7 separate regions of the Homo sapiens genome follow, and regions 1, 2, 4, 5, 6 and 7 are each linked to region 3. The links are contacts of gene promoters, found by promoter capture Hi-C in blood cells and fetal thymus (Javierre and others, 2016). All regions are on one chromosome and are shown on one strand. The core of a region is centred on a gene start or on the middle of the fragment in contact, and the rest is flanking DNA. Distances in the headings are between cores, read along the strand shown.

Region 1 (3,950 bases), core at 305-2,804, 300 kb before region 3:
AAAAAAAAAATTAATTGACCACTGGTGGCAAATTCAGACTACTTAAAAAACAAAAAAACAAAAATCAATCGACCATAAATGTAAGAGTTTATTTCTGGACTCTCACTGTCATTCTGTTGATCCATAAGTCAATCCTTATGCCAGTTCCACATTGTCTTTTTTTTTTTTTTTTTTTTGAGACACAGTCTTGCTCTGTCACCAAGGCTGGAGTGCAGTGGCGTGATCTCTGCTCACTGCAACCTCTGCCTCTCAGGTTCAAGCGATTTTCATACCTCAGCCTCCCCAGTAGCTGGGATTATAGGTGTGCACCACCACACCTAGCTAATTTTTGTATTTTTAGTAGAGGTGGGGTTTCACCATGTTGGCCAGGGTGGTCTCGAACTCCTGACCTCGAGTGATCCACCCACCTCGGCCTCCCAAAGTGCTGGGATTAAAGGCATGAGCCACTGCGCCTGGCCAGTTCCACATTGTTTTGATTACTATGGCATTATAGCAAGTTTGAAACTGGGTAATATAAGTATGTATGTATGTATGTATGTATGTATGTATTTATTTATTGAGACAGAGTCTTGCTCTGTTGTCCAGGCTGGAGTGCAGTGGCATCATCTTGGCTCGGCTCACTGAAACCTTCACCTCCCAGATTCAAGCGATTCTCCCACCTCAGCCTCCCGAGTAGCTTGGATTACGGGCATCTGCCACCATGCCCGGCTGATTTTTGTATTTTTAGTAGAGATGGGGTTTCACCGTGTTGGCCAGGCTGGTCTCAATTCAAACTCCTGACCTCAGGTGATCCACCCACCTTGCCCCCCGCAAAGTGCTGGGATTAAGGCATGAGCCACCACGCCTGGCCTGGGTGGTGTAAGTCTTTTAACTTTTTTTTTCTTCTTCTTTTTTTAAATTATTTTCACTGTTCTGGGCCCTTTGCATTTCTGTATGAATTTTAGGATCAGCTTGTCAATTTTTACAAAATAAAAAAAACCTTCTGGGATTCTGACAGGTATTGCATTGAGTATGAAATCATTTTCTGATGCATAAATTTTGCCATCTGTTGATGAGCATCTGGCTCTGTTCTTTTTTCACTACATGGACAATGTCACTGTGAGCACGTTTGGTCACGTCTGCTGGTGCCCATGTAAAGCTTTTCTCTAGATAAGAGCCTATACCTAAGAGTAGAACTGCTCTGTGCCTCTTCAGCTTTTCCAGATAATGCTAAGTTATTTTCCATAGTAGCTGTGCCAGCATACGCTTGTAGTAGTATGTGGGCGTGTGAGAGTCTGTGCTATTCAACATTCTACCACCATTTGGTATGAGCAGATTTTCTATTTTAATTTTTCCAGTCATATTTTCTTGTGGTTTTAATTTGCAGTTCCTCGATTACTAATAAAAATGAGCATCTTTTCACATATTTATAGGCCTTTGGGGTTTCCTTTTCTGTAAAATGACCTTTGCTGATTTCTTTTGCCCATTTTTCCATTTTGTTATCTGTGTTTTTCGTACTGAGTTTTGCAATTTTTAAGATGTATTCTGGATAGTAATGGTCTACTTCTTTCCTTCCTACTCAGGTCATCTTTGAATGTATGCATTTGTTGTGGCTATTCAAATTTTTTTAACCTTTTTTCTGAGACAGATTCTTGCTCTGTCTTCCAGACTGGAGTGCAGTGGGGCGGTCTCGGCTCACTGCAACTTCTGCTTCCCTCGCTCAAGTGATTCTCCCACCTCAGCCTCCTGAGTAGTTAGGGCTACAGGCACACACCACCATGCCTGGATAATTTTTGTATTTTTTGTAGAAACTGGGGTCTCACTACATTGCCCAAGCTGGTCTTAAACTCCTGGGCCCAGGCGATCTTCCTGCCTCAGCCTCCCAAAGTGCTGGGATTACAGGCATGAGCCACCATGCCCAGCTGGGATTTGTATTGTTAACACATACCTGGGTTACCTGATTCTTATCAGACAAGTTTAGGAAGCGGCACCAAAGCTTTAAAAACTGTGGCATCTTCAAAACAGTAATTTAAAAAGTAACTTCAATTTATAAGATCATTATAGCTTTAACTTTGGATTAAAAACAAAATCTTATTCCTGTTGTCCTTTATAAAATATATGTTCTATGAAACCAGCTTGGGAGAAAATCAATGCACAGATGTTTGGGAAGCCCCAGCTGTGTTTAATTTGAAATCCTCTGTTTAAATTCTCTCTCTCTCACCTCACCAGTGGGCAGTAACTCATCTCTGAGAGACTGTCCAAGCCCAGCTCTGGGTAGAACTCAGAGATGTCACATCCCTAGGAACCGAGAACTGTGTATTGTAAACAGTCTCTGAGATTTGGAGTTGTTAGCTTTTTCCAGCCTTGAAATCTCATGGGGGCAGCTGTTTAAGTTGGAACTCTCACAAAGGGCATATGAAAATCGCAGAGCGAGGTGTCAGGAAATGGAATTCCACATACATCCAGTTGCCACGTTTGGTGTCAGCACTATTGTTTTTACAGCTTACATTCCCGCCCCGCCCCCCCCCCCCCCCCCACAAATAACATTTGGGCTGTAAGGGGATGTTTCGCAAATCAGACACGTTGTTTACTTTTAGGCCTGTAATGCTATGGAGAAACTTGGTGACTCTAACAATTTAGATGTTGGGTAACAACACCAAACTGAAAACACATGTCAACCTATCTCTTGACATGGTGAACGTTCTCACCATTCTCTGCATATTGGAATTGCATATTAAATAATCCTTTCTAAATGTCTGAACATCTTTTTTTTAATTTTTAAATGACATTTTTCTTTCTGAGGGTCAACCATTGAGGTGATGAAGTGTGGCAGTTATTTAATTCCTTATGCTGACTTTTGAATTTGTAAAGTCTTCAGGGCATGGCATTAAATTTAGTTCTTCAAAGTAGAAAGAGCTTTTCTGTTTCTGATGATAAAAGATAATCAAAGGTGTTTGGGGCCACATTGTGTGACTGCGGTCTTCCATTAAAAGTCCTGAACGCTAAATAGCAGACGAGTACTCAAAAAAAGAGTTCTGAACATGTTGGCCGGGTGCAGTGGCTCATACCTGTATTTCCAGCACTTTGGGAGGCTGAGGTGGGAGGATTGCTTGAGGTCAGGAGTTCAAGACCAGCCTGAGCAACATAGTGAGAACCTGCCTCTACATAAAATTAAAGAAAAAAAATTAGCCAACCATGGTGGTACATACCTGTAGTCCCAGCTACTCGGGAGGCTGAGGCAGGAGGATTGCTTGAGCCCAGGAGTTCATTGCTGCAGTAAGCTATGATTGCACCAATGCACTCCAGCCCGAGCGACAGAGCAAGACCTTATCTCTAATAAAATAATAATAAAATTTAAAAAAATTAAATAGTCCTGAACATGGCTGTGACCCTTTGGCATGAATGAGAATGTAGAATTCAGCAATTCCCCGCAAAGCTGAAATGTTTTCAGCATTGAAGGTCATATTTCCAGAGTAACATGTATTCACTGAAGCTTATGTTCCTTTTGGGGGGAATTTGGGACTGAGTATAAATAATCAGTGTGAGTTTATGAAGCCTTGGGGATTTACTTATGGGGTCATTTCTTAGAAAAGAATGTTTAAGGATGCTGATCACCCTGAAATCAACAGAAGAAGCCAGTCTGCAAAGCAATTGAACAAAGATGGGGCCACAGATGAGGACTGTGATGAGAGAGATGTCATTCACTTCTCTCAGTGATTTTGAGTGCTTCCTGGTTCAGTATACAAGCAGGATCCTTTTGGATAAGGCTTTCCTGAAGAAGGTGATAGTGTATTTTCTTAAGAGACTGTTATGGGCCGGGTGCGGTGGCTCACGCCTGTAATTCCAGCACTTTGGGAGGCTGAGGTGGGAGGATCACTTGAGGTTGGGAGTTTAAGGCCAACCTGGGCAACATAGCGAGACCCCATCTCTACAAAAAAAAAAAAGGAAGGGAAAACAAAGAAGAGGTTCTG
Region 2 (3,889 bases), core at 1,304-3,803, 340 kb before region 3:
ATGTCCTAAAGGTTTCTTGGGAATAAAGACTTAATGGGAAAAATATCTTAATAACTTTTTTAAAAAATTCTTCTTTCTTGAATGCAGTCTTTAATATGCTTAGTACAGGTCTTCCAGTAGTACACCAGCTTCTAAATGATGATTTGTTTCTGTCATCCTGTATTACATTTGTAAGCATGTTTTCTTCCCTTCTCTAAATACATTATGTCCTTATTTTTATATTGTGTTAGAGCTGCTGAAATGGGAATGCCAAATAAGAAATTTCTGGTTAAACAAAATCCTTCTGAAACAAGGTGAGAAAAATCACTTAGTCTTAATGAGAGGCTTTTTGTTTTTTATAGAAAAAAAAAATTGGCTGGGCACGGTGGCTCACGCCTGTAATCCCAGAACTTTGGGAGGCCAAGACGGATGGATCACCTGAGGTCGGGAGTTTGAGACCAGCCTGACCAACATGGAAAACCCCATCTCTACTAAAAATACAAAATTAGCTGGGTGTGGTGGCACATGCCTGTAATCCCAGCTACTCAAGAGGCTGAGGCAGGAGAATCGCTTGAACCCGGGAGGCAGAGGTTGCAGTGAGCCAAGATTGCTCCATTGCACTCCAGCCTGGGCAACAAGAGTGAAACTCTATCTCAAAAAAAAAAAAAAAAAAAGTTAAAAAATTAAAATTTAAATCCCAAACTTCATTTTTGTTGACTTTGTTCTACTTGACATCAGTAGAGCACTTCTTGCTGAATTGGGTCGGGGGTCGTCCTCAGGCTCAAGATTCATACCAATACCTGGCCATATACCTAGTCACATGTCAGACCAGATGTGCCCGGACCTTTTGTAGGACATGCTATCTGTGGTAGAAATTTTGAGCGTGGTATGTCTTGAGTTCAGTTAGACAGTCCAGAGGATCTTTGATACTTATTTAAAAACCTTAGAAAGCTAATTTAAGCTGGGCTGGGAGCAGTGGCTCATGCTTGTTATCCTAGCAGTCTGGGAGGGTGAGGTGGGTGGATCACGAGGTCAGGAGTTCAAGACCAGCCTGGCCAAGATGGTGAAATCCTGTCTCTATTAAAAATACAAAAATAAAAGATACAAAAAGCCGGGTATGATGGCGCGTGCCTGCTCAGCTACTCAGGAGGCTGAGGCAGGAGAATTGTTTGAACCTGGGAGGCGGAGGTTGCAGTGAGCCGAGACTGCACCACTGTACTCCATCCTGGGCGACAGAGCAAGGGTCCGTCTCAAAAAAAAGCTAACTTAAGCTGGGCACAGTGGCATGCTCCTATGGTCCCAGGTACTCGGGAGGCTGAGGCAGGAGGATAGCTTAAGCCCAGAAATTCAAACCAGTATGGGTAACATAGTAAGACCCATCTCAAAAAAATAAATAAATAAAAAATAAAGCTAAAAAGCGAACTTTAATATTTCTGACCTGTTTTTTACTCCTGTAAAATGAGAGTGATACTTTCTTCTCTCACTGGTTTGAAGGGAAAAGTTAGCTTTTGTAAAGCATATGTATAAGAAAATTATCTAAAAGCACAAGGGTTAGTCTATATGTTGGACATTTCTTTGCTGATAAAAACCTAAGGTTTGGACTCTTAGTGAGCAAAATACAAGTATCATATTAATATGCTTTAGTCGATTTGCTCTGATTTGTGGTAATATATAGGCCATATTATTGCATAGTTGACCTTTACCTTACAGTCATCATCTTTCATCCGTTGAAAGAAAATGGGAAAAAATGGAATTTAACCTATTAAATTAATTTTTCATTTAATTTGTCAACAGAGTCCTTCAGCCAAACCAAGGACAGAATGCACCTGTTCATAGGCTACTTAGTAGACAAGGGTAAGAATGCCACACACGGGTATTGAAAACTACGGAAACCAAGATTAGATTTGAGAGGGAAAAATAAATCTAGTGTTCTTTATGTAAAGGATAATGGTTTTTCAATGGGATTTTTTTTCTTTATAGCATTGGGAAAGATATTTTAAAGTTTTGTCTTCAAATGTAACCCTCTTGGTGTACTGTTGTGTATTCTAATTACTGTCTTAAGTTGGGATGTTTTTACTTTTCATTTCATACCATTTTACTCATAAAGTATTTTAAATATCCATATAGTAAATTCAGCATCACCGAAGTGATTCTCCAACAGAGTATGACTCGTGCTTATAGTCTCCTGCTGAAGCCAGAGTTTAGCTTTCCTTACTGTGCGCATGCATGAGACTTCAGTTCTTTTCAAGCTTATTTGTGCTTTGGACAGTTGATGCAATGTGATTGCTTTCTTTGAATTTTGAACATTTAGACCTTAATGCCAGTGACTTATTAATTTTTTTATATTCAATTAGAACCCCTAAGACATCAGTGAAGGGGGTTGTGCAAAATAGACAGAAGCCTTCACAGAGCAGAGTGCCTAACAGAGTGCCTGTTTCAGGTTTGTAGAAAATAAATTCCTGAAGCCCATTCAATAGAAGGAAGTGCACAAGCTGCCCCATAACTCAGGCCATAGAAGTGGAATAGATTGTCTTTCCTTGCCACCATAATTTTGGCATATTCACAGTCATCTTATTAGTGTTCTTTGGTCTTAGCATTGTATGGCAGTCAGGAAGTCTTAGTAAAAGTGTGATTCCAGTCTTCATTTCTATAATATTTCTGTGGAAAGCACCTTGTATTTTTCATTCTGAAAAAATTGTAGAATTTGCCATGCTTAATTCAGAAAACCTTTTTATTTAATGAATAAAAGATAACGATCATCTCTGGTGCTAAGTCTGTGCATTGTCTGTTCAGCTTGGGGAAGTGTATCTGCACATAAGGGGATAAACTTTCTCCCTCAGACTATAAGATCACATGTGAATATGCCAGTGGGAGGAGGGCTTCATATTTTGCTCAGTCCAAAGCTTGAGCTAAATCTCTCCTTATGTTCATTATTTGAGGATTAAGAGCTAAACTAAAAACTGTATTTTAAAATTCTGTTTATGGTGGCAAGAAGACAAACTCATTCTTGAGCAAATTCAAAGCTCTTAACCAAATGCTTTAATATTTTTTAGGTATCTTTGTTAAGACACTTTGATTAAGCTCACTTAAAAATTATGTGATCCATTTAAAAATACTTTCCAAATGTTGTGCTTTAACTATACTGCTTTCTAGACATTTACAACAAACCTAAATTAATCACCAGGCATTGAAGATTAAACCTTTAATCAATTTTAATCTTTCCATTAATATACAATTAGGCAAATTTTAGAGCTTTATTACTAAGTGATTTCCTTCAAATTAGGAGGGAACAAGCTATTGGTCGTAACTTTGAAATGATGGCTGACCTTTTGTATGTATGTAGTGAAGGTAATTCATAGTGTCACACATATATAGGATAATTTAAAAGATCATCTTTGGAAATCATTGTGAGTGACAGTTAATGGAATTGTCTTAAAGGATTACATAGCTGAAGATACTGTTTACTCCAGAGGCAGTCAGAATAAGCTAGTTTGAAAGATAACCATTTGAAAGGACTCAGACCAAACACCAAACCTGTGGAATTTTAAGACATTTTCTGTTTTTCTCATGTTAGTATTCTATATTGCACTGAAACTTAGCAAGTTGGAAAATCATTGAGGAATTAGTATTGTTTTGCCTGATACCAATTTGCCACAGTGACTACTCTCCATGTTCTTTTCTCATGCATTTCATCTCCACTATTTGTCACTTGTGAACTTATAAGCAAAATAGCAAGTACTGTTTTTATTCAGCAATACTCAACAGTATAAAGGATGTATAGTCAGTCACTGAAGTTAGTAACATACAATGAAGTTCATTATTTTGAACTATTGAGGTTAAATTGCATTGCAACATACTTATTAATACAAATGAACTTAACCCTTGAATTAATATGTATCTAAACAAGTAC
Region 3 (4,066 bases), core at 315-2,814:
CTTCCTCCTGGAATCTCCTTCCCTTCCCAACTCAGCTGACCCCTTTCCAGGCTTAGAGCAGGGAGCAGATAGCAAACTGTTCACTCCACAGTCTTAGATACCAAACTGGCCGGGAGGGCTTCCAAACGACAGATGCCAATTTGCATTCTATTTACATGTCATTTGCATGCAGTTTAACTCAAAGCCTGGATCCTCCGCAAGCCCGAGTCCCCACCGAAGAAACTTCTGAATTAAGAAGGTTCCTTGGCTGAAGTGCCGGGGTTTTTGTGCCAGATCCCTCCCCCACTTCTCTTGTCTTTGCGGGGTCCCCCAGGGCTTTCTGGGCTCTGTTCAGGTGCCCCCCGGCCTGGTGCAGTTGGGCGGCCAATGTGGCGCGTGGGCTGGGGCCCCAGGCGGGGACGCCGCTGCCCGCCACACTCCAGGGGCCTTTGTCCGCGCTCCAAGGAGCCGCCCCCTTAGCGAACGGGGGACGGAAAGGGAGGACTGGCTAGGCCTGGGTGTGACAGAGCAAGGACGGAGGAGTGAACCCGCTGCACGGGGGAGATTTCTGGGGCAAGGTCGTTGGCCCCTTCCCAGGCTGTTCAACCGGCTGCCCGGGGCCAAGGCGGGTGCGGGCTCCTCCCGCGCGCTCCCTTTTCGGCCTAAGCGCTAGGGACCCCGGGATGTGTGGGGTCCTTGTGGGGCTGGAAGCCTGTGTCCCCCAAGGAGAGGGGACCGAGAACAGGTCTAGTCCTTATCTCCAGCCTAGCCGCCTCTTCCAGAGGTCCAAGTGCCCCCTGTCTGGAAGGGAAACGCCACTGCCCCCCCCGCCATTGTATGCAGCCGCCCCCTCCTCCCCACCCCTCCCCGTCATTCGTCCCCAGCCCAGGTCTCAGCTCTGCCATCTCCCACCGCCGTGTCCCCCCCTCCCCTTGCTGAGTAATGCGCACTCAAGCCGGCTGCGGGCTTGACCCCCAGCCCCCGCGACAGGTGCGGCTGTTCACCCCCAAAGTCCAGCCCTTGTGCCCCCGGCTGCGTCTGCCCTGTCCACAGTCAGCCCCCAACGCGGCCCCAGGACCAGCCCGCAGCTCCTCACACATGACGAGTCACTAGGACACGGCTGGGCTCCTTTACCCTCCCAGCTGCCCTTCACCTGTGGTCGCCCCCACACCCTCCTGGGAGACTTGGATCTCTACCTGGTCCGGGCACAGTCTCCCTCCCCCCGTAAAGGTCCCCAGATCCTCCCCTCCCCCGCCCACCCCTCTACGGCTCTGCTCTCGTCGCACCGTGGTTCCCCTCGCCCAGATTCCACATCTCCCCCAGCAATAAACTCCCTGGCTTGGGTTGGGGGGGCGCTTAGAAAAACACAAGAAGCGGACCCCCCAATTCTCCCAAATCCACGGCGGGAAAAGTTTCTGGGGTCCCCACAGCGTCCTCCACTGCATCGGCGCAGCTCGCACTTACCGACCCCCGCGGCCCCGCAGCGCCGACGCTCCAGCTGGCCTTCGGCCCGAGTCACATCTCTGCGGCGCGGCCGCGGCCCCCGCTCCACGCACGCCCGCCTGCGGGTCCAGCTTCACTGCAGCGCCTGCCAGAGTCGCTGCCGCGCGAGGCGCCCCCTGGCCCGGCCCGCGCTGCTGCAGCGGCCGCGGCCCCGCCCCCGCCCCCGCCCCCGGCCGGCCCCGCCCCCGGGCCTCCGAGCCCCACCCCCGGTCCCGCCGGCGGTTCCGCGCGGGGCTAGGCGCCGTCTGCATGCACCCCCGGAGCCCAAGCTCGTAGCTTCTAGCCCGGATCTCAGAGACGATTCCCCCGACCTCGTGCCCCCAATTCGGGGACATTCCCCCCACAACGTCAGTGCGCCCGTAAGCAGTCCAGACGAGCCGGGCAACTCCCCAGGGTAGATCCATTTGCGGGAACACTCCCCTAGCCAATACACTTACCGAGGGAGGTATCGCGACCCAGGGGTCCCAGCGCGGAAGCCTTCCTGCCCCCAGGCCACGCTCCAAGGGGGGTTCATAAGCAGTAACTTCCCCGAAACACACCAGCACCAGGTCCAGGACGCAGAGAGGATCGATCCCGCCCGGTGCCTCTCGAAGTCACCAACGCCCCGGTATACACCTAGGCGCACACACACCGCTAGGCCTCCTCCAGGCAGGTTCCTCCTGGACACACTCTTCTCTCTCCTCACTGCCCAACTCCCAGATGTCGTTGTCCGTTTACGCACACTGGGACCAACACCCGCTTCCTTGGCCCCTCGAAACACACACGTCCAGTCGGTGCACCCCTCACGTGGGTCCCTACGCAGGATCGCCACCACCCCTACCGCACACATCACCCACGTACGCACATGTCCACTGCCCTTCAGGGCTCACACACTCAGCGGCCCGGGCCACTGGCCGTGCGCTCCGCAGACGGTCAGGGCACAGCCCGGACGCGTGTCCGCTGGGCGGCCGTGGGACCTGCTTGAAGGAGGGGTCCGGGGCAGCCGTCTCTGAGTCCCCCTCACCCCGTCCTAGTCCTCAGGCCTCTCCGAGGTCGCATTGCTTCGACCAGGCCTGGGAGCTGCGCTCCGGCACCCCATATGGGGCTGGTTCCCTGGGTGACCTTCAGACCATCAAACCCTGGCAGTCTCAGGTGGCCCCCCGCCAAAGCCAGAAACAGACCTTTGAGCAGCATCCCTTCCCTGCACTCCAGATTCTCAGGGTGAGATTTCCTTTCTCCCTCCGCGGTGCGCCCCCCAATCTCTACCCCCGTCGCCGCAACCATCCCAGCCACATAAGACCAAAAGGGATAGGACGGACCCCTGCTCCCCTCTCCCGGGGGCTGCAGGAAGGGGAGATGCAGAACACCTCCTTCTGGGAATAGTGGCAGCCCCTGATCTTTGGGGACCGTGGCCCTTCCAGATACTCCCATCCCTCCCTGCCAGCCTCCCAGTTCCGGTCCGGTTAGGCCACATCCCCCTTGGGCACGCATCTCTGGGATACCTTTTATTATATTCAAGGGAAAATGGAAAGGAAGAACCATAATGGCAGTTTTTCGCCCCACTCCTGGTTTATTTGCATGGATCCTCAGAGCCCAGAACAGTTCCAGGCACAGTAGGCGCTCATTAAATGTTTGCGGGACGACCCAAAGTGTGTTCCCGCCAGACTGCGCAATTGGAAAGTGGATGGGCACTGTCACCTGGTGGCAGCTCTTGGAACTGACGCCGAGATCCTTTTGTCAACGTGGGCAAGTTCACTTTCGTGAGCCACATGTCCTCAACGTCTGCAAAATGGAGATCTTTTTCATCGCACATGCCTATTGGGGTTGTTGTGAAGGTCTAACACGTGCTAACATATAAAGTGCTTCACGCAGGGTCTGGCATGTGGAAAATCCTTAATATGAGCTGATTAACATTGCAGTTACGGTTATATTCCCTTTCCCACTTGTTTTACAGAGGACCCTGACTGTGATGGTCAGTTTCACTTTGGGTGATGATACCACAGGGAGCACAGAGTGAAAATGAAGGAGGACATTGAGTGGCAGGTGCATTCCTTCCCTCCAAAAAGTTCAAACACCCATGGATGATAATAATAACAATAATAGCTGAGTACATAGTGCTTTCTGTGTGCCAGGAGCTATTCTAAGTGTTTTAAATTCTTTAATTCATTTAATCCTCCCAGTTACCCTTTAGGCCAGAGACTGTTATTCTCCCTGTTTTACAGATGGAGACACTGAGGCCAAGAGGGGTTAAGTACTGCCCCGGGGTTAGACGGTTGGCAAAGACAAAATCCAATCCAGGCCATCTGGCTCTGCAGGCCATATTATCCACCAATGGTTAGACTGGTGTCATTTGCTGTCAGGTCAGACATTGTCACAGAGGAACCTCACCTCCCAGGAGAGTTCACTGGGTCTCCAGCCTTGGAGAGAATGGCTCCAGGAGGTCCAGGGAGCCATGTCAGGCTCTCAAGTGCCCAGTTCACTTTGTCTAATGAAAACCAGTGGCTTCCCTGGCTCTATTCCTCACCTGAGAAATGGTCAGTGCACTGCCCATGGCTTCCCACTGACAAATGTCATGGTATGTGTATTAATTTCATACTGCTATGAA
Region 4 (4,056 bases), core at 1,052-3,551, 500 kb after region 3:
AGTGTGACACACAAGCACCATTACCTTTGCAGCTGATGGGCTCTGACCTGTTGCCCTCAAAAAACAGCTTCAACTCCGGGGCCTTGGTAATCCCAAACTCCTGCTGAAGCTCCTTCTCTATGGTAATGTCCACTTTGCCAAAGCCGATCCCATTCTTGCCTTTGCCCATGATCTCCACAGCTTTGCCCAGCTCTTCCGCCAAGTTCCTGGATTGCTTTGAGGATGGGTTGTCTGAAAGAGTATGAAGACAAAATTTGAGAGGCCTTTCCTCGCTCCCCATCTCCAACAGTAGATTATTTGTTGGGCCTGCTTAGCTCCCGGAACCTTTCTTGTGCTCAGCGGTTAATGGCTGAATTTTCATAAATGTGACAAGATGTGAGACACAATGGTTCATGAAATTAGACAATCTGGGAGATGTCTATCAAGGTTCTTTGGATTCAGTAGCATTGGAAACAACACAACCATGGGCAACTTTACTCCATCTCTCTGAGCTCCACTTCTCTTGTGTAAAGTGGGTGAAAATAATAGTGGTTACTTCAAGGAATCGTCAGAGTTAAATGAGATTTATGTCACAACCAGCTATAATTGCTTATTGTTTTCTAAGAGTTTTACGTGCATTAAGCCATTTACTCCTCTCTATAACTCTGTGGGATAGGTATTATTATTATCTCAATTTTATACATGAGGAAGCTGAAGCACAACAAATGACTTACTTGCGCAAAGCCCTGTGACAGTGAGAGGTAAGGCCAGGATAAGAGCCCATTCTGTCTGGCTGTAGAGTTCTTTTCTAATCTCCACTAGGCATGTAAACCACTTGGTATAATGCCTGGCACAAGTTAAGTACATGCTGCGTTCTTATTACTGCTTCCATTATTATAGTAAAATTTCTGTGGTCAAAGCAGGACCCAAGCAATGATTACACAAAGGCATGCAGAGTGGTATAATGGACATTGGAGACTCAGATGCGGGGAGGCTGGGTGCAGGGTGAGGGATCAAAAAAAACTGCATATTGGGTAGAAAGAACATGACTAAGGTGATGGGTGCACTAAAATCTCAGACCTCACCTCTACACAATTCATCCCTGTAACCAAAAGCCACTTGTACCCCCAAAGCTATTGAAATAAACAAAAACAAACCACTCAATAGCATAGACACGATGATCACATTTATGGAATTGTTAAAAAGTGTATGCCCAGGGCAAAAGAAGTCTAGAGGGAAATTTTCCAAACTATTAAAATTTTTTGTTTTAAAAAAATTCTGTGGTCAGAAATTATGGAGACAGAGAGGAAGCATGAGAGCTCATGAGCGCCATCTGGTGGAACGTCCTGGAGCTAACAGGCCAAATTGAGCCCCTGCAGTTGCCCTGCATGTAATTGGACAGGGGACTTTCGCAGGTAAGGAAAACCAGGTGTGGGGAGGGCGGGGATAGGGGAGGTTGTGGTGTTCCCCTGAGTCCACCCTCTTGTCTCGAAGAGACCTGGAACTCTCCATTAAGAGATCTGATCTGGACGCCTTGGCCCCTCACGTTGCTGGGCAGTGGGGAGGGACTGGGGAAGCCCTTTTCTGGAAGCGGTATCAGGGAGCTGGCACGTGACCTTGGCAGTGCAAGAGGCTTTTCTGGCTAAACGGAGGGGACTAAAAGGCGCCCAAGTGTGCCTTTCTTCCTCCTGATAACATTGTGAGGCTGCAGGTTCCTCGCTACCCCATGACTGAGGAAGGGGGGCTGAGCCAGGGCAGGGGGTCATTGATTGCCTTTCAAGCCAGAACATTTTATCTTTTTCACTGCCGCCCACCCCCGTGGTCCATCTGGAGCACTTGGAGAAAGTGCAAATGACCTCTGCTGCAGAGGGCAAGTTCCAAGTCCAACAGAGAGGTCTTTTGTAAAGTGCCGCTCAGAAAGCAGGGCCCCGGGACAGCTGGCGAGGGCCCCGTTGCTGGTCAGCACGCCTGCTCCTGCAATGGGATCGGAAAGTGAATGATCGCTTTCATTAAACTCCCGGTCAATGGACCGGAAGCGGGGACTTTGTGCCTCCCTCCTGGATCGATGCCCCTCCACTGCCTGCTTTGTCACCGTCATCGCCTTCGATATCCCCTGATATCCCCTATCCATCATCACCAGCATGCACTGGCCAATTGCTGGCTGCTCTGGTCCATGGGGCTCTCCCCGGCTTCCTCGTGGATGTGGCCATGCTGGGCTCAGGATTGCTGATTGACATAGAATCCGAATCTGAGTTTCTGAGGGCGGAAGCTCAGGGCAAGAGAAACACTTGGAATGATTGTCCAGATGGTAAAGCAAATTTTAGAGGTTCCACACACAACCCAGTGCCCCTGGGTGTCTGAAATGGAAGTGACAGAGAGAGCTTGTGGCAACCGGAGTGCTGGGGTCTGAGAGCTAGATTGATGGGGCCTATGATAATAGTAATGGAGATTCATTCATTCGTTTTATGCATTCATTCATTTATTCATTCATACAATGAAACTTTTAGGATATGCCATGTGCCAGGCACTGTCCTAGGGATTGGGGATATAACAGTGAACAGATAAAAACCCCTGCTGTCACTTGAAAAGGCAGAAAATAAGCAGAATAACAAAGTAAAATATGTGCTGTGTTAGATAATATGTGCTTTGGAAAAGAACAGGAGAGTTGGAGGTTGGGAGTATTAGGGAAATTGCAAGTTTAAGTAGGAGGCTAAAGATGGCAATGTTTTAATAAAGATGGAAAGAAATGAGAGCGCAAGCCATGTAGACATCTAGCAGGAGAGAATTCCTGGTAAAGGGCCAGTGTATGCAAAGGCCCTGAGGTGGGGCATGTGTGACATGTTCAAGGTATGACAAGAAGTCCATTGGGTCTGGAGCAGAGTGAGCTGGGGCCAGGGGACAGGTGATGTAGGGTCTCGCAAGCCACTGAATAGACTTTGACTTTTCCCAGAATATGGAATGGTACCAGAGGGTTTGGAGCAGAGGTGGAGGTGATCTGAGTTACTCTTTTTCTTTTCTTTTTTCTTTTTTCTTTTTTTTTTAGACGGATCTTGTTCTGTCACCCAGGTTGGAGTACAGTGGCACCATCTTGGCTTACTGCAACCTCCACCTCCCGGGTTCAAGTGATTCTCCTGCCTTGGCCTCCTGAGTAGCTGGGATTACAGGCATGCACCACCAGGCCCTGCTAATATTTGTATTTTTAGTAGAGATGGGGTTTTACCATGCTGGCCAGGCTGGTCTTGAACTCCTGTCCTTAGGTGGTGATCTGAGCTACTTTTTAACTGGATTTCTCTGAATATTATATGGAGATTAGACAAAAAGGGAAAGAGAAAGGATGCAGGTAGACCAGTCGGAGGCTACTACAGTAATCCAGGCAAGAGATGGTGATGGCTTTGGGCCAGGAGAGTGGTAATGGAGGGGCTGAGAAGTGATTCCATTCTAGAGAGATTTGGGAGGAGGAGTTTGGATATGGAACATGGTGAAAGAGAAGAGTCAAGGGTGTCTCTGAGGTTTTTATCTGAGTGACATAGGATTATGTAGGATCTTCTATGGAAAGATGATGATGATGTCACTATCATCGCCATAATGATGATGATATTGATGGCGATGTTGATAATGAGAATAGTAATAATAACAACACGTATTGATCCCTTACTGTGCTAAGTACTTGCTTAGTGTTCCATGCATTACCCTGGTTAATCTTCAGAACAATCCTGTGAGTTATCTGTGATTACAAGCAGGAATATCACAGATAAGGAAATGGAAACCCAGAGGTCTTACAGCTAGTATGCAGTTAGGCTGAGAGTCAACTCGAAGGCTGACTGGCTCCAAGGTTCATGCTCTAAATGACCAAATTGGCCAGCTGGTCTGAAAAATCTTTTTCTTGGAGCAGATTAATGGGGGCATGTTTTTCATTTCTTCTGTTCCAGGTGGTTCCCATCAGAGCAGAGACAACCTACACAGCCAACGCCACTCTTTAAAATTTAGAGTCCGATTTTCTGGCTTCTTTCTTTAAAAATTTTGTAAATTGGGCCAGGCGTGGTGACTCCACGCCTGTAATCCCAGCACTTTGGGAAG
Region 5 (3,610 bases), core at 707-3,206, 320 kb before region 3:
GCAAATGTACCCCAATGGGAGGTGCTTCTCTCCCTCCCCTAGACTGCAGTTCAACTCCATTCAGGCAGCCATCGCCGGCAGTTGGCATCTGACTCGACAGGTTTGAGGGCAAGGTCCTCAGTGAGACAGCCCTGGCCCAGTATGGTAGCTCATGCCTGTACTCCCAGCACTTTGGGATGCTAGATGAGAAGATCCCTTGGGCCCAGGAGTTCGAGAACAGCCTTGGCAACATAGTGATACCCCACTTCTACAAAAAGTAAAAAAACAATTAGCAAAGTGTGATGGTGTGCTTGTAGTCCCAGCTACTCAGGAGACGGAGGCAGGAAGATTGCTTGTGCCCAGGATGTCGAGGGTACAGTGAACCGTGATCACACCATTGCACTCCAGGCTTAGTGACAAAGCGAGACCCTGTCTCCAAAAAAAAAAAAAAAAGACATCTTCACTTCAGAAACTCCAACTTCGCTACACATTGGGAGTTCCCATGCCTCCCTCCCTCATGTTCAATAATTTGCTATAGTGGCTCACAGAACTAGGGAAACATTTACTTATACTTACCAGTTTATTATTTAGTATTTACTTGTACTTAACAGTTTATTATTAAGGATATTACAAAGAATACAGATGAACAGCCAGATGAAGAGCTACGTAGGGTGAGGCCCAGGGGAAGGGGCACACAGAGCTTTCATGTCCCCTCCAGGTACCTCGATGTGTTCTTGTTCACCTACCTGGAAGCTCTTCAAACCGCCCCCCCCTTTTTTTTTTTTGAGACAGGGTCTCACTGTATCGCCCAGCTGGAGTGCAATGGCACATTCTCAGCTCACTGCAACCTCTGCCTCCCAAAACCCCATTTTTCATGTTTTTTTTTTTTTGAGGCATCGTTGCATAGGCATGATTGATTATTCATTCGGTCTCCAGCCCTCTCACCTTCCCGAAGGATGGGGAATGGGGCTGAAAGCTCCAATCTTCTAATCATGGCTTGGTCTTTCTGGTGACCAGACCCCATCCTGAAGCTCTGCAGGAGCCCATCGGGAGTCACCTTATTAGGACAAAAGATGCTCCTATCACCCAGGAAATCTCCTAGGGTATTAGGAGCTCTGTGGGAGGAACTGGGGGCAGAGACCACATAAATTTAACAGCTTGGAGTGCAGTGGTGCGATCTCGGCTCACTGCAACCTCCACCTCCTGGGCTCCAGCCATCCTCCCACTTCAGCCTTCTGAGTAGCTGGGACCACAGGCATGTACCACCACACCTGGATTATTTTCATATCTTTTGTAGAGATAGGACTTCACCATGTTGCCCAGGCTGGTCTCAAACTCCTGGCTTCAAGTGATCCTTCTGCCTCAGCACCACAAAGTGTTGGGATACAGGCATGAGCCACTGCACCCAGTAGAAAACTTAACTTTTATGAGGTGTTCAAGGGAGAAAGGCAAAAAAAAAGTACCTGGTTAAAGTAGAAATTCCCTACTTAGATGTTAGTTGTTGGTTTTGATTGGTAGTCTCTAGTTAGTGGGTAGTTGGCGATTTGCAACTGATTAAGCTTAAGTTCCATTTTGCTACTTATATTGAGTTGGATTTTGGTTTGCTACATAGGGAACCCCAGGTGCTGTAGCCATCTCAGTCCAGTGACCTCTCAATTAATTTTTTTAACACTTCCTAACCCTAACTTCCTACTTTCCCTTCCTTGACAGTTGTGATCCTGAGTCATGTCCATTTGTCACAAAAACTAAGCATCCCCTGCAGATGGTTAAGTCTCTGCTGCAAATGAACCATCCATTCAACTACCAGAATGGGAGGAAAGTACCCACTGGAGTGTTTCACTGGAGAGAGTTGTGGGAGTTCCGTTTTACCTCCAGAAATTTTCCTCACAGGTCACAGAGTCAAAGACAAAGAAAGTGAACCGGAAAGGAAGCACTTCTTCCACGTCCTCCTCCTCCTCCAGCTCCGTGGTGGACCCGCTGAGCAGCGTCCTCGATGGGACTGACCCCCTCTCCATGTTTGCAGCCACTGCTGACCCCGCAGCCTTGGCAGCTGCCATGGTAATGCACCCCAGCCATGGTCGTCCAGTGGGGGTTGGTTTTGTGGGTGCAGGAATGGGTGGTTTTCTTGTGCCCTGCCCTTTTTTTTCCCCTGAGAGACAGAGTCTCACTCTGTCACCCAGGCTGGAGTGCAGTGGTGTGGTCATGGCTCACTGCAGCCTCCAACTCCGGGGCTCAAGCAATTCTCCCACCTCACCCTCCTGAATAGCTGGGATTATAGGTACACACTACTGTGCCGGGTTAATTTTTTATTTTGTTGTAGAGGTGGGGTCTTGCTGTGTTGCCCAGGGTGGTCTTGTACTCCAAGCCTCAAGCGATCCTCCCACCTGAGCCTCCTAAAGCTTCTTCCCCTTTTTTAAGTTGCACAAGTAATGCACACGGTACCTTCTGGTCAGGTCATCCTGACATGAGAGGCTGGTGTAGCTCTGTGAAGTCTTTTTGTTTTTTTGTTTGAAAGCATTTTAAAATTTATTTTTATTTTTTAATTTAATATTTTTTTCAGACAGCCTTGCTGTGTCACCCAAACTGGAGTGCAGTGGTGCAATCTCACTGCAGCCTCCGACTCCGGGTTCAAGCAATTCTCTCACCTCAGCCTGCCAAATTGCTGGGACAGGCATGCACCACCATGCCCAGCTAATTTTTGTGTTTTTTGGTAGAGATGGGCTTTCATCATGTTGACCAGGCTGGTCTTGAACTCTTGACCTCAAGTGATCCACCTGCCTCAACCTCCCAAAGCACTGGGATTACAGGCGTGAGCCACTGCACCTGGCTCTTAAAATTTATTTTTAATTTTAATTTTATTCTTCTTATAAATCTTTTTACATAATACATAAGTAAATCACTCATTTTGATGTGAAAAAGTCAGACACTACAGATAAAGTCATGTAGAGCAATCCTCATTCCAATCTCCACCCTGGCGGTTGTGAGAATGATGGCTGTAATGTGTCTTCTTCCATAGCTTTTCCCCTGTATTTTCATAGATACTTGCGATAGCAGTTTCTGAGCATTCCCATACGTACTCATATATAAATAATTACAGCATCAACTTACTGCATGGCAGGCATTTTTCCGGAGTGCGTTTTGTATTTGGTTCTCTTACTACCTTGTGAGAGGTATTGGAATCCTCATTAAAGAGGCAGCCATGGAGGGATAGAGATAACAAGTCACATCCAAGCTGGGATTCAAACCTGGCCAGTCTGACTTCAGAATACATGCTCTCGATCATCATCCTATGCTGTGTTTCATATATATATATATATATATATATATATATATATATATATATATATATATATATATTTTTGAGATGAAGTCTCACACTGTCACCCGGGCCGGTGTGAAGTGGGGTGATCTCGACTCGCAGCCTCCACCTCCCAGGTTCAAGCGATTCTCCTGCCTCAGCCTTCCGAGTGGCTGGGACTACAGGCACGTGCCACCATGCCCAGCTAATTTTTGTATTTTAGTAGAGACGGGGTTTCACTATATTGGCCAGGCTGGTCTCGAACGCCTGACCTCGTGATCCACCCACCTCGGCCTCCCAAAGTGCTGCAATTACAGGCGTAAGCCACTGTGC
Region 6 (3,699 bases), core at 326-2,825, 370 kb before region 3:
TCAGGTGATCCACTCCCAAAGTGCTGGGATTACAGGTGTGAGCCACTGCACCCGGCCCATTTTGGGTTTTAACAACTGGTTTCAATGATATCATGGGATTAATTAAAAAAAAAAATTGGCATCATCAGAATTCTCAACCAGTAGATGGCCCTTACCGATTATTAATATTGCTAGGGGAAAAATACTCAAGTTGCCCAAATGGGGAAAAAAGTACTTGCACTTGAAAAGCTGGTTATAAGAGAACAAATGTAATCAGAATCATATCTTCCCACTGATTTTCACTGTAATAATATGTTCTTATGAGTGTAAGTGCAGGCCCTAAAATTTAAGCAAAATTTTATCTAGGAATGTCAAATACATTTGAAGAAAATAAATGATTTTCTGATAAAAGTATAACTGCTAAAATCAATGAATAAAAAACTATACATAAGGGATATAAATTATACAAAGGGATAAATCTATGTAAAAGGTATATGTTCTGTTAACTATTAGAAGCTTTTAATATAGGAATTCTCTTTAAATGCAGTCCATAGTTGTCCATATAAGGCCCTTAACTTTTAAGCTAGATAAAATTGGTCTTGTGTACAACTTCGGAATTCCTTTTTTTCAAGTAACTCAAGGTTACTACAGTGGTTTTTTTCTAGAAATGTCTTTTTTACTGTTTACTTAATATCTTTTGTAAATGCTTTATGTAAATAATAGAAACTTGACTCTTCCATTTTATGCTGGTTTTGTAAAGTTTCCATAAAAGGTTAAAAAGTTCCATAATGCACTGTTTCCTTAAATGATATAGATTCCTGCATTGTACACTTCCATTAAACAAATACAATTTATAAAAATAAGTTTTAAAAAGAATAAATAACAAAATATATGTAACTTCGGAAATGACCGTCAATGAAATAAGATGTCTTTTTAACAAAGTGAAGTCCACAATTTAAACTGTACCTTGTGTGCATGGCCTTTGACATCAAAGAAGATTGTGAGGTTATGGTTTAGGCACTCTGCAACAGCTTCCCTTAGGGTAGGGATCTTTTCATCAGGGAAATCATTCCTGTAAGAGAAGAGAAAATACGTTGTAGGAAAAAAGAGAAACAGATAAACTGTATTGCAACAAACATTTTGCATATGTCTCTCAATCAAAAGGAAAGAGTGTTTTCTCCAACTTCCTTTTTTCGACCATAGCAAAGTCCAAAGATACTTTACTTTAAGATTTTTTTTTTTTTTTTTGAGACGGAGTCTTGCTCTGTTGCCCAGCCTGGAGTGCAGTGGTGCAATCTCAGCTCACTGGAACTACCAACTCCCAGGTTCAAGCAATTCTCCCGCCCCAGCCTCCCAAGTAGCTAGGACTACAGGCGTGTGACACCACGCCTGGCTAATTTTTTGTGTTTTTAGTAGAGGCGGGGTTTCACCATGGTGGCCAGGCTGGTCTTGAACTCCTGACCTCAAGTGATCTACCTGCCTTGGCCTCCCAAAGTGCTAGGATTACAGGTGTGAGCCACTGCGCCTGTCCTACTGTAATAATTTGAACCAAATTATAGATATTCTTTTTTCCACATTTTTATTGCTATACACTTAGACATATTTTTGTGATATGCGCATAATGTATAATGATAAAATCAGGGTATTTAGGATGTCCATCACCCCAAATATTTATCATTTCTTTGTGTTAGGAACATCTAAATCTCCTAGCTATTTTGAAATATACAACAGATTGTTAACTATAATCACTTTACTATGTTATTGAACACTAGAATTTATACCTTCTATCGAACTGTATGTTTGTACTCATTAACCAAATTCTCCTTATTCTCCTCTTCCCCCAACCCCAAACCCTTCCCAGCCTCTGGTAACTATCATTCTCCTCTCTACCTCCATGAGATCAACTTTTTTAGCTCCCATATATGAGTGACAACATGTAATATTTGCCTTTCTGTGCCTGGCTTATCTTATTTCATTTAACATAATACCTTCAGTTCCATCCATGTTGCTGTAAATGACAGGATATCATCCTTTTTTATGGCTAACTACATAGTATTCCATTGAGTATATTTACCACAGTTTATCCATTCATCCACTGATGAACACTTAGGTTGATTCTGTATCTTGGCTATTGTGAATAGTGTTGCAATAAACATGGGGGTGCAAGTATGCCTTTGATACACTAGTTTCCTTTCTTTTGGATAGATACCAACTAGTGGGATTACTGGATTGTATGGTAGTTCTATATTTTTAGTTTTTTGAGAAACCTCCATACTGTTTTCCATAATGGCTGTACTAATTTACATTCCCACCAACAGAATATAAGAGTTCCTTTTGCTCTGTATCCTCGCCAGCATCTGTTATTTTAAAAATCTTTTAAATAATGGCCATTCTAACTAGATAAGATGGTACTTCATTGTGGTTTTGATTTGCATTTCCCTAATAATTTGTGGTGTTTTTTCATATGCCTGTTGGCCATTTGTGTGTCCTCTTTTGAAAAATGTTTATTCAAATTAGGATTTGAATAGATGTTTTTAATGGGATTATTATTGTTTTTGCTGTTAAGTTCCTTGTATATTCTGGATATTAGTTACTTGTCTGTTGAATAGTTTGCAAATATTTTCTCCTATTCAACAGGTTTTCTTTTTACTCTGTTGATTATTTCCTTTGCTGTGCAGAAGCTTTTTAGTTTAATATAGTCACATTTGCCTGTTTTTGTTGCCTGTGCTTTTGAGGTCTTAGCCATAAAATCTTTGCCTAGATCAATGTCCCAGAGCTTTTCCCCTGTGTTTTCTTCTAGTAGTTTTATAGTTTCTGGTCTTAAATTTAAACTTTTAATCCATTTTGTGTTGATTTTTTAAATATAGTGAGAGATAGGGGTCTAGTTTCATTATCCTGCATATGGATATCCAGTTTACCCAGTACCAGTTATTGAAGAGAGTTCCTTTCCCCCACTGTAATGTTCTTGGTGCCTTCATGGAAAATCAGTTGGCTGTAAATATATGGATTTATTTCTTGGTTCTCTATTGTATTCCACTGGTCTATGTATCTGTTTTGTGTGTGTGTGTGTGTGTGTGTGTGTGTGTGTGTGTGTGTCAGTATTTATACCAATACCATGCTGTTTTGGTTACTGTGGCTTTGTAGTATATCTTGAAATGAGGTAGTGTGATATGTCCAGCTTTGTCCTTTTTGTTCAGTATTGCTTTAGCTATTTGGGCTTCTTTACGGTTCCATATGAATTTTAGGATTGTTGCTTTTCTATTTCTCTGAAGAATGTCTTTGATATTTTGATAGGGATTGCACTGAATTGTAAATTATTTTGAGTAGAATGGTCACTTTAGGAATATTAATTCTTCTGATCCATGAGCATGGGATGTCTTTCCATTTGTGTCCTCTTAAGTTTTCTCATCAGTGTTTTGTAGTTTTCCTTGTAAGAGCTCTTTCACCTCTTTGGTTATATTTATTCCTAGGTATTTTGTTATTTTTTTTTTGGTAGCTATGTAAATGGGATTACTTTCTTGATTTCTTTTACAGCTAGTTCATTATTTACGTATAGACATGCTACTGATTTTTGTACGTTGATTTTATATCCTGCAATTTTACTAAATTTGTTTATCAGTTTTAACAGTTTTTTGGTGAAGTCTTTAGGTTTTTCTACATACAAAATCATGTTGTCAGCAAAGAGGTACAATCTGACTTCCTCTTTTTCCAATTTGGATG
Region 7 (3,974 bases), core at 280-2,779, 360 kb before region 3:
AGTCTGAAAGTATCTCACTTATTCGCTTTCATGGAGTGGCTATCCTTTCTCCACTGGTAAACTTGCTTTGTTTTTAAATAGTTTTTTTCTGTAGTGAACAACTAAAACAGTTCGTGGAAAAACAAAAGAAAGGCTTATAAACATTTGAAGAGATGCCCTCATTCAGAATTAGAGAAATACAAATGAATTAGCATTTTTTACTTACTATTATAGATTGGCCAAGACCTAATAGAACTTTGTGTTCCTTAGATTGTGGAGAAAATGCACTTTTAATGCACTTTTGCTAAGAGAATCAGTTTATTTTATTTCTAGATGAGCAGTTTGGTAGAATTTAAAAGCATACATAGCCTTTGGGTCAGCAGTTCCATTTTTGGGTATATCCTACAATTATATGTGAGCCCAAAGAAATAAGTACAAAGTTACATTAGCATTGTTTAAAATAGCAAAGGTTGACGAACCACCTAAATGTCCATCAGTAGTGGAGTAGTTTAACTATGGTCTATTTTATAAACTCTCATACATACCATTACAGTAAGGCAGATGTAAATGTTGAGGCATGGAAGGATCTCAATGATCTAGTGTAAAACACCGTGTGCAGCATGCTGTCAGGGGCAGTATAGAGTCATGATTAGAGGTCCAGACTCTGGGCCAGGCACAGTGGCTCACACCTATAGTCCCAATGCTTTGAGAGACCGGAAGGAAGAGGATTGCTTGAGACCAGGAATTCAAGACTAGCCTGGTCAACATAGTGAGACCTCATCTCTATAAAAACATGTTAAAAAATTAGCCTGGCGCAGTGACATGTGCCTGTAGTCCCAGCTCTTCAAAGGCTAAGGCGGAAGGATCGCTTGAACCTAGGAGTTGCAGGCTGCAGTGAGTCAGGATTGCATCATTGCCTGGACTACAGAGAAAGACCCTATCCCAAAAGAAGGAAAAAAACTCCAGCCTGGGCTAACAGAGCAAGACCCTATCCCAAAAGAAGGAAAAAAAAAGTCTAGGCTGTGGAGCCTTCTGGCCTGGGTCCAAATCATTGCTTTGCTACTTACTTGCTGTGTAAACTTGTGGTCCATTTTCTTATTTGTTAAATGGGGATAAAATAGTGCCTACCTCATAAGGCTATTTTGAAGATTAAATGAATTCGTAGATATAAAATGGTTAGAATACCACCTGGATCATAAGAGGTACCCAATATAAGTTAACCATTTGGGTTTTTCAAAGGATGGCTATTCCTTTTCTGGGGAGTGGTGAGAGAATATAGGATAATAGGGAAGACACTTCATCATACACCCTTTGATACTAATTGGATATTTTAAAAATGCATATGACTTTATTTTAAATCACAAACTAATATTAGAAAAAAGTGAGCTTTAAATTTATTTTTTGGTATAACAGGAGTTAAGAGATTAATTTTAATTAATTGAATTGAATTTTTAAAGACACCAGAGCTAACTGCCAACTTTTTGTAATGAAACTTTCAAACATACAGCAAAGTTGAAAGGATAGTGCAGTGACCACCCATAGATTTACCATTAGATTAAATAATTTTTAACATTGTTGTCATCTTTGCTTTATTGTGTTTGTGATTTTTATATACATCTATGTGTGTGTGTACATATGACATTTTTAAAAATTGCCTAGCTATTTGAAAACCACGGAGACCTGACACTGCTCCCCTAAATATTTTGGTGTACATCTCTTAAAAATAAGGACATTCTCCTATGTAAAGCCCCAATACCATTATCACATCTTAAGAAAACTAATAATTTTTAATAATATCTAATAATTCTGTTCATATTTAAATTTTTCCATTTGTGCTCAAAATGCCTTTTATAACTTTATTCCCCCAATCTGGATCCAAAGTTCACAATTAGTATTTGCTTGTTATGTTTCTTTATTTTAATCTAAAATAGCTACTGTACGTCTTAAAAACAGTTTTTTTTATTGGTTGAGCATGGTGCCTCACGCCTATAATCCCAGCACTTTGGGAGGCTGAGGTGGGTGGATTGCATTGCTTGATCCCCAGAGTTTGAGACCAGTCAGGGCAACGTGGTGAAATCTCATCCCTACAAAAAATACAAAAAAGAGCTGGGTGTGGTGGCGCGCACCAGGAGTCTCAGCTGCTCTAGAGGCTGAGGTGGGAGGATCACCTGAGCCCGGGAGGCTGAGGCTGCGGTGAACCCTGATCATGCCACTGCACTCCAACCTGGGTGACAGAGTGAGATACTGTCTTTAAAAAAATAACAAAACTATGATACTGAATTTTTAAAGAGACCAGAGCTATTGTCTTGTAGAATTCCTTAGATCTTGGATTTGTCCCATTGTTTCCTAATAGTGTTATTTAACTTGTTTCTCTAGTCCCTGTAGTTCCTATGAACTGGAAGTGAAGTTTGATAAACAGGTTAAAGATTTTTGGAATTCTTTGAAGATAGGGCTGGGCGGGGTGGCTCATGCCTGTAATCCCAGCACTTTGGGAGGCTGAGACCAGCCTGGCCAACATGACGAAACCCCGTCTCTACTAAAAATACAAAAATTAGCTGGGCGTGGTGGTGGATGCCTGTAATCCCAGCTATGTGGGAGGCTGAGGCAGGAGGATCCCTTGAACCCAGGAGGCGAAGGTTGCAGTGAGCCAAGATCCACTGAACCCAGTAGGCAAAGGTAGTGAGCCGAGATCGAGCCACTGCACAACAGCCTGGGCAACAGAGTGAGACCCTCTCTCAAAAAAAAAAAATGTAATCCCAGCACTTTGGGAGCCCGAGATGGGTGTATCACTTGAGGTCAGGAGTTCGAGACCAGCCTGGCCAACATGGCGAAACCCCTTGTCTACTAAAAATATAAAAATTAGCTAGGCATGATGGTGGGTGCCTGTAATCCCAGCTGTGCGTTAGGCCGAGGCAGGAGAATCGCTTGAACCCAGGAGGGATCGGGATCGCACCACTGTACTCCAACCTGAGACTCCATCTCAAAAAAAAAAGGAATTCTTTGGAGATGATGCCCTGCACTTCATACTAAATTAAATCAGAAGTTACATAATGTTTAGTTGCCCTCTATTAGTGATGTTTAGTTTGAACACTTGCTTACAGTAGTGACTGCCAGATGGCTCTTTAAAGTACACATTTTCTCCTTTTGATTAGCAAGTAAATTGTATAATCATTCTTTGGTACCATGCAATTAGGAAAAAGTTTTAAAACAACATATTTATCAGCTATTTGATAACACATTGCTTGATTTAATGTGGACCAAAATGTCTGAGGCTTGTTGTGTAGGGTCTATGACTCCGTCTGTTATTTATTTATAAGCAAAATGTGATGTTTATGGACCTAATCCACACTTTTATGTTGTATTTGATAGGTGAATATTGCAACTTTTGAAATAATTTTTTAATGATATATTTTCTATTTGTGTAAGTCTACGATAAGTCTTGACTGTTAACAGTGATTTAATTTCCCAGGACTTAATAATTAAGATTGAAATCCATTATAAAGAGATACAATGCTTAGAAGCCTTCCATTTTTTAGGTACATTATATTTTTATCAGAAGGTAGAGTGAGGTGAAAGAAAAGATGTATTCTGCTTTTGTAGGCAAATAATATATTATCTGTTTATTTTATCATTAAACCTTTGGACATTTTTTGAGGCAGCAAAGAGTTAAATTGTGCACTGGTTAGAAAATTAAAAGTTGTAGAATCCAGTTGATCCAGTGAAATAAGATACTGAAGATGGGCCAGGCGCGGTGGCTCGCGCCTGTAATCCCAGCACTTTGGGAGGCCGAGGTGGGCAGATCACAAAGTCAGGAGTTCGAGACCAGCCTGACCAACATGGTGAAACCCCATCTCTACTAAAAATACAAAAATTAGCTGGGCGTGGTGGCACGCGCCTGTAAGCCCATCTACTCCGGAGGCTGAGGCAGGAGAATCGCTTGAACCCAGGAGGCGGAGGTTGCAGTGAGCCGAGATCGCACCACTGCACTCCAGCCT

Evidence for each region. Contacts are between HindIII fragments. The CHiCAGO score rates a contact against its expected background, and 5 or more counts as called.
Region 1: a contact is called between a fragment that was not itself captured here and the fragment with the promoter of GPRC5B in region 3, in 16 of 17 cell types (naive CD8 T cells, total CD4 T cells, naive CD4 T cells and 13 more). The highest score is 18.9, in naive CD8 T cells.
Region 2: a fragment that was not itself captured here is called in contact with the fragment with the promoter of GPRC5B in region 3 in 9 of 17 cell types (total CD8 T cells, naive CD8 T cells, total CD4 T cells and 6 more); the score reaches 10.6 in total CD8 T cells.
Region 4: a contact is called between a fragment that was not itself captured here and the fragment with the promoter of GPRC5B in region 3, in 1 of 17 cell types (M2 macrophages). The highest score is 5.4, in M2 macrophages.
Region 5: a fragment that was not itself captured here is called in contact with the fragment with the promoter of GPRC5B in region 3 in 16 of 17 cell types (activated CD4 T cells, total CD8 T cells, naive CD8 T cells and 13 more); the score reaches 17.6 in activated CD4 T cells.
Region 6: a contact is called between a fragment that was not itself captured here and the fragment with the promoter of GPRC5B in region 3, in 1 of 17 cell types (total CD8 T cells). The highest score is 5.9, in total CD8 T cells.
Region 7: a contact is called between a fragment that was not itself captured here and the fragment with the promoter of GPRC5B in region 3, in 4 of 17 cell types (naive CD8 T cells, total CD4 T cells, monocytes and 1 more). The highest score is 6.8, in naive CD8 T cells.

What each region holds. Positions count from the first base shown.
Region 1 is chr16:19,587,642-19,591,591 of GRCh38, forward strand. The region is part of intron 7 of VPS35L (VPS35 endosomal protein sorting factor like); the gene reads left to right. Among named protein-coding and RNA genes, the nearest start is that of VPS35L, 34 kb to the left of the region's middle. The HindIII fragment of the contact is 837 bases long and covers 1,137-1,973 here.
Region 2 is chr16:19,546,182-19,550,070 of GRCh38, forward strand. CCP110 (centriolar coiled-coil protein 110) reads left to right here. Exons shown (of 14, transcript NM_001323572.2): 12 at 231-293; 13 at 1,774-1,833. Among named protein-coding and RNA genes, the nearest start is that of VPS35L, 7.6 kb to the right of the region's middle. The HindIII fragment of the contact is 654 bases long and covers 2,227-2,880 here.
Region 3 is chr16:19,883,284-19,887,349 of GRCh38, forward strand. It overlaps GPRC5B (G protein-coupled receptor class C group 5 member B), which reads right to left and starts at 1,565. Exons shown (of 4, transcript NM_016235.3): 1 at 1,444-1,565. RefSeq lists an enhancer at 1-308 and a silencer at 1,824-2,118. The HindIII fragment of the contact is 5,537 bases long and covers 1-4,066 here.
Region 4 is chr16:20,384,621-20,388,676 of GRCh38, forward strand. PDILT (protein disulfide isomerase like, testis expressed) reads right to left here. Exons shown (of 12, transcript NM_174924.2): 3 at 25-231. Among named protein-coding and RNA genes, the nearest start is that of PDILT, 18 kb to the right of the region's middle. RefSeq lists an enhancer at 1,903-2,436. The HindIII fragment of the contact is 7,710 bases long and covers 1-4,056 here.
Region 5 is chr16:19,567,555-19,571,164 of GRCh38, forward strand. VPS35L (VPS35 endosomal protein sorting factor like) reads left to right here. Exons shown (of 31, transcript NM_020314.7): 3 at 1,870-2,037. Among named protein-coding and RNA genes, the nearest start is that of VPS35L, 14 kb to the left of the region's middle. The HindIII fragment of the contact is 840 bases long and covers 1,537-2,376 here.
Region 6 is chr16:19,509,894-19,513,592 of GRCh38, forward strand. GDE1 (glycerophosphodiester phosphodiesterase 1) reads right to left here. Exons shown (of 6, transcript NM_016641.4): 3 at 946-1,051. Among named protein-coding and RNA genes, the nearest start is that of GDE1, 10 kb to the right of the region's middle. The HindIII fragment of the contact is 2,165 bases long and covers 494-2,658 here.
Region 7 is chr16:19,527,967-19,531,940 of GRCh38, forward strand. CCP110 (centriolar coiled-coil protein 110) reads left to right here. Exons shown (of 14, transcript NM_001323572.2): 2 at 1-56. Among named protein-coding and RNA genes, the nearest start is that of CCP110, 6.0 kb to the left of the region's middle. The HindIII fragment of the contact is 6,012 bases long and covers 1-3,974 here.